Regions from separate parts of the Homo sapiens genome. Here region 1 is linked to region 2. The links are contacts of gene promoters, found by promoter capture Hi-C in human tissues and cell types (Jung and others, 2019). All regions are on one chromosome and are shown on one strand. The core of a region is centred on a gene start or on the middle of the fragment in contact, and the rest is flanking DNA. Distances in the headings are between cores, read along the strand shown.

What was found. The method cuts DNA at HindIII sites, captures the fragments that hold promoters and counts their contacts. A contact is called where the count stands out against the background at its distance.
Region 1: a contact is called between the fragment with the promoter of RINL here and a fragment that was not itself captured in region 2, in 2 of the 25 tissues and cell types used here (dorsolateral prefrontal cortex and lymphoblastoid cells).

The regions. Positions count from the first base shown.
Region 1 is chr19:38,876,892-38,879,591 of GRCh38, forward strand. RINL (Ras and Rab interactor like) reads right to left here and starts at 1,384. Exons shown (of 12, transcript NM_001195833.2): 1 at 1,341-1,384. It overlaps SIRT2 (sirtuin 2), which reads right to left. Exons shown (of 16, transcript NM_012237.4): 15 at 2,543-2,609; 16 at 1,669-2,419. The coding sequence ends at 2,264. RefSeq lists a silencer at 1,171-1,220 and enhancers at 1,761-1,880, 1,921-2,020. The HindIII fragment of the contact is 14,230 bases long and covers 1-2,700 here.
Region 2 is chr19:38,842,176-38,844,875 of GRCh38, forward strand. HNRNPL (heterogeneous nuclear ribonucleoprotein L) reads right to left here. Exons shown (of 13, transcript NM_001533.3): 5 at 1,833-1,929; 6 at 1,667-1,739. Among named protein-coding and RNA genes, the nearest start is that of HNRNPL, 6.5 kb to the right of the region's middle. RefSeq lists enhancers at 574-653, 736-1,236. The HindIII fragment of the contact is 4,246 bases long and covers 1-2,700 here.

The sequences.
Region 1 (2,700 bases), core at 134-2,633, 35 kb after region 2:
CCGCTTGCCGTGGCAGGGGTTAATTCTTTATTTTATTTTTGAGACGGAGTCTCACTGTATTGCCCAGACTGCAGTGCAGTGGCACGATCTCAGCTCACTGCAACCTCCGCCTCGTAGGTTCAAGCGATTCTTGTGCCTCAGTCTCCCGAGTAGTTGGGATTACAGGCGTGCACCACCACGCCTGGGTAATTTTTGTATTTTTTAGTAGAGACAAGGTTTTGACGTGTTACCCAGGCTGGTCTCAAACTCCTGACCTCAAGTGATCCCCCCGCCTCGGCCTCCCAAAGTGCTGAGATTACAGGCATGAGCCACCACACCCGGCCGGCAGGGGTTAAATCTTTAGTACCGGATGGTGGGGAATCTGGGGATCCCAGGAGAGAGGCCAGTGTGTCTTGCGGTGTGGGGAGAGGACTCAAAACAATAGCTCTTTACTGAAGTGGTAGGAAATATGTTAAGATTTTTAACAGCCATGGGGGCTGTGTAAATGTGGGCCAGCCCTTGGCAAAACCCAGTCAGCGCCTGGAAAAGTTCTTGGCCCAGAGTAGGCAGTCCCTATATCTGGAAAGGTAATAACATCCCCTCTTCCTCCCTTCCCACACCATGGAGGGGCCACTGAATCTCTTCCCCCAGCATTTTATTATGAAAAATTTCAGACATAGAGAAAAGCTGAAAGAATTGTACAGGAAACATCCCTATGCCCACTACCAAGATTCTACCATGAACATTTTACTCATCTTGCTTTATCACACATCTGTTCCTCTCTCTCTTCATCCACCCATCAGGCCCCAGCTCCTAACCAGGTACAGAGTCCTACGTAGGTTATCACTTAGGGTGGCACTTATCCCAGCAGCAGTCCCAGGAGCAGGAGACCTGGATCGGGGGAGGATCCATCCTCCCTCCCTCCCTCCCTCCCTTCCTTCCTTCCTTCCATCCATCCAGTATTTACTGAATACAGGCTGGAATTAGGTGCCTCTGCCCTGGAGAGAGGGTGATGAACAGGACAGGCTCCTCCCCTCAGGGCCTTCCATTCTTGTTTGGGGCAGGTGTAGCATATGGATAATAGGCAGCTAAACAAATACATTAGGCCATTGACCAGAAGGCCAGGGTGTTATTAGGAAGGAGGGAGGTGGGCAGGGAGGCGCAGGTGCCCTGCCCAGGCAAGAGCAGGAAGGAAGGGAGGGGAGGGGAGGGGAGAGGGAAGCAGATGCCTGCTTGTGTACCGTGGCAGGAGAGGAGGCTGTGGGCAGTGCGTGGCAGGGGTGGGTCAGGGCAGCTGCCTCATACCAAAGGGAGGCAGCAGGGGCTGAAGATGCCAGATGCTCGGTTCCTGGGGGCCCTACCTGTTCTCGGAGGAGAGGCCTGCAGTAGCAGGAAGTGGAGAGAGGAAGCTGAGCAGGCAGGGGGAAGAGGCGGGGCTGGGGTATCTGAAGTCAACTTTCCTCCCTCTTTCTGGGGCCTCAGGCCTTTAGTGACGGGGCTTAGAGGAAGGGACACTGGCAGGCTGGGAGTCCAGGGGTCAGAGCCACGAGGGCCCCCGTGAGGACCCTCTTGTTACCCCTCACTCTGGATCCCGGAGACTTTCTGGTTCCTTAGTGGCCCAAGATCTAACCCCCTCCCTTCAGAGATTTCCCTGGGTGCCCACAGAAAGAAACAGGAGGCCAGACCGGATTGTTAGTTGTTTTTGTTTTTAATTTGTCTCCAATAAGCAATGTCTTCTGCCCATCCAGCATGGGAAGTGGGTCCCACGTGAAGGGGGCCCACCACCCACTTTGGGAGCTGAAGGCAGAGACTCGGGAGCCCTCCCGGCTCAGACTCCCCCTACGCTGGGTGTGGGTTATATTCAGAGGCCCACACCCACACTGGGGTAGGTTAGGTATGGTTTACTTAGCCACAGGCCCCCGGGGGCAGGAGACAGAGTGGGGGCCCGAAGCTCCCTGTCCTGGAAGAGTTAAAAGTTCTGGGGTAGCCCTGGCCCCGTGGGGGCAGTTAGAGATGAGGGAGGTTACTCCTTAGCCCAGGAGTGGTTAGAGACAGTGGGGCTGGTAGAGATGCCTGTTTAAGCCTTGGCCTCTAGGAGGTGTTAGAGATTTGCTGGGGTTGGGGGCCAGGGTTGCTGGGACCCCAGTTTTGGGGAGGGAGCTGTAAGAGATTGGGGGATGTTCTGAGCTCCCCAGACAAGAACTGCTGGTTAAGAGGGGGCCAGGCCCGGTTGGGGCTCAGCTGTCCCTGAGGAGCTCGGCATCCCGCCTGGGAGATGCAGCTGTCACTGGGGTTTCTCCCTCTCTGTTGTCCTGGCCTCGTCCTTGGCAGGTGGCGGGGACTTCTTGGGGGAAGCTGAAGTGCTGGGGTTGGGGACCCCCGCCCCCGACTGGGCATCTATGCTGGCGTGCTCCCTCCGGACAAGGTCCTCCAGCTCCTTCTGCAGGAGCAAAGGTCACAGAAGTCAAAGGTCACTGTGCATCATGGGGTCAGAGGACCCATGGGGTGGGGAGAGGGTCCAGGGATGGGGCTCAGGACAGGCTGGGGTTGCTCAGCTCCTCACCTTCCATCCAAGGAGCTCAGCAAGGGCCAGGCAGCCCTGGTCGCATTCACCCAGCCAGGCCACGTCCCTGCGGTGCAGCAGGAGATCAGAGTTCCCAGGCGGGCTCGCCCCTGCCTGCTCCTCTCATCTGCCTTCGTGCCCCCGCTCCCACCTCACCC
Region 2 (2,700 bases), core at 133-2,632:
AAAATAAAAATATCAAAACAGAAAAAAAACAAGGCCCTCCCCAAACCAAATGACTTAAAAAACAAAACCCATATGGCGAGGAATGGAGAGAGGATCCTATTGTCTTGGAGGCCCATGGAATCTACTTCCGTCTATGAAACGTTCTCCGAAAAGAGCATCGCTCGCTGGCTGGCTGGGACAGCTCTGTTCTCTGTGTTTCCTACTTCTGTGTACATTCTCGGGTTCAAGTTTGCTTGGATTTTGACCTTTTTTTTAATGTTTAATAAAAAAAGCAGTGTCTGCTGCCATGTTGCGTCTCTTTCTCTCTTTGTCTCTGTATGCCTCTGTCTCTGTGCTTGTAGCTGTTCCTTGGAGCGCGGTGTGGTGTTCTTGATGTAGTGAGCTCAAGTCTGCGGCTGTTTCTGGGGACGTGGTGGAGGCTGCATGTTCTGTTCTCTCCAGGAAGAGCTAGTGGTTTTCTACCCTGTGTGTTGGTGAGCAATGTGCAGAGGCAGAGCCGCTGAAGTATGGTTCCTGAGGGGTGGCGAAGCACCGCCCTCACTCCAGGTCACCTCATCAGCCCTCGTTTTTTTTTGGGCCCCAGCCTTGGGGCTGCCAAAGCTGAGAGGCATCAAAACCAATGCACAGCCAGCCCCCTGCCACTAGCCCCTGCCGGTCTGCACATCTTCTATTTATGTTCCTTGGAGAAGAAATGGTTGTTGCCATGTTTCTGTTAGCAGTCATGTAATGCCATTGCCCGCTCTGGTACATTCACTTGGTCACCAATTTGCCTCTGACCTTTGGAGGGAGCAGCCAGGCCCACAGGGCCCACTGTGAGGATCCTGGGGAAGAGTCTAGCCCACCCTGCCCACTGCTTCCCAGATGCAAGGGCGAGCAAGACAGGCCTGCCTAGGAATGGGGGGCTCTGGCCTCTCAGGGCCTGTGCGATGTCAGCATCGAGCCTCCTCCCTCAGCCCATGGCCTGGTCCGACGTATCAGACCAAGACAGACACCGAGATGGATGGTCTTGTTGGGGGGCTGCCGCTGTTTCTCATAGGCAATCCTCCACCTCTCCCTGCTACCAAAGGCAAACCATTCTTGACAGACACTAGGAAGGGAGTTGTCCATTTGGGCCACCTGCAGAGATGTTGCGTCCCCTCTACAAATGATGTGAGGCATGTCCGCCCTGGTCCAATCCAGAGTGTCTCACCTCCACAGGGTCAGCTTGCTCACAAGGCTCACTGCAAGAGCCCAGGAGACCTCATCGCCCCCCAACACTGTCACTCCCCCAAATCAGACCCTCTCAACAGCGCAGAACAAGAGGACAATTCCTGGTCCAGCAAGAATGGAGTGAGTGACCCTCACCAGACTCTCAAAGGAGCCACTGCTGGTTTCTAAGGCCGCCCCCACGCCTCATCCTCAGTGAGGCCCTGCTCCCCGCCCATCCAGGCTTCTGCCTTGCCTCTGTATCCTGAGCAGCATCGGAGGGCCCCAAGCAGCAGTGAAGACCCATGGAGGCCTCTCACTCCCCCATCCCACTAGGGTGTCCAAGTGCTGACCCCAAGGCCCTCCCATGTCCATGGGGGGCCCAATGGCATTACATAACCCTGAGCCCAGGCCTATTAAGTGCACTAGTCGAGTGAAAGCAAGGCGGGTATGTTTAGAACAAAGTGGTCGTCAAGATTACCTTGTCCACTGAGATTGGGGTTTGTGTAGTCCCAAGTATCCTGATCATTCTTGAACACATTCAAGCGTGTAGGCTGCAAGGACAGGACAAGACAAGACTTGAGGTCAGCCATGCCCCAGCTCACCTGGAAGCTGACAAGGGGCAGTCAGTCACCTCCCAGATGTACCTTTGCGTATTCGATCTTCAGAGTGCAACAGCCAGAATAGATATCAGCCCCATTGAGAGAGGCCTTGGCCCGCTGGGCACTTTGAACTGAGTCAAATGTGAGTCAAGTTAAGGAAAGTCCCATCACAGGAGATCTTTGAGAAGGGCTTCAAGTTACCCCAGAGTGTGATAAGGACAAGGTAGCACCCCAAGACTGTGGTACAGACGGAAGCTTTGGGATTAGCTCACTGCCCAGCCACTAGCCTCAGGTTAAGAGACCAAAACGGTGTTGATGGACTCAACGCTGCCCCGGGTGAGCAGTCACTGGCCAGAGTTCTCTCATAATCTGCACCCCGACCCATGGCCACCAGCAACCTCTTCTGCCACACCACTTTCTCCGTCTCAGCCCTCTCACACCCTTCGACTAAATCTGAAACATCAACTCGATTACAGCTCTGCCCTGAAAGTCCATCAGTGGCTTTTTCCTGCCCCTGCCCCAAGCATCGCAACGCTGTCTAGGATGCCCTAAAAGCTTCTTCCAATGTCTATTCCAAACCCGTCTGCTTGCCAGCCACTTTGCAATCCTCAGGTCTTTCAATTTCTCCATCCAACACAAGCTCCTTCTGACTTTACAACCTTTGCAGAGGCTGTTTCCTCCACCTTGAGTATAAGCTCCTATTTGCTCATAGGACATCACCTCCTCAGCAACCTTCACACATGCCCCACCTTTTTTTTTTTTTTTTGGATATGGAGTCTCGCTGTGTTGCCCAGGATGGAATACAGTGGCACAGTCTCGGCTCACTGCAATCTCCGCCTCCCAGGCTCAAGCGATTCTCCTGCCTCAGCCTCCAGAGTAGCTGGGATTACAGGCGTTCACCACCATGCCTGGC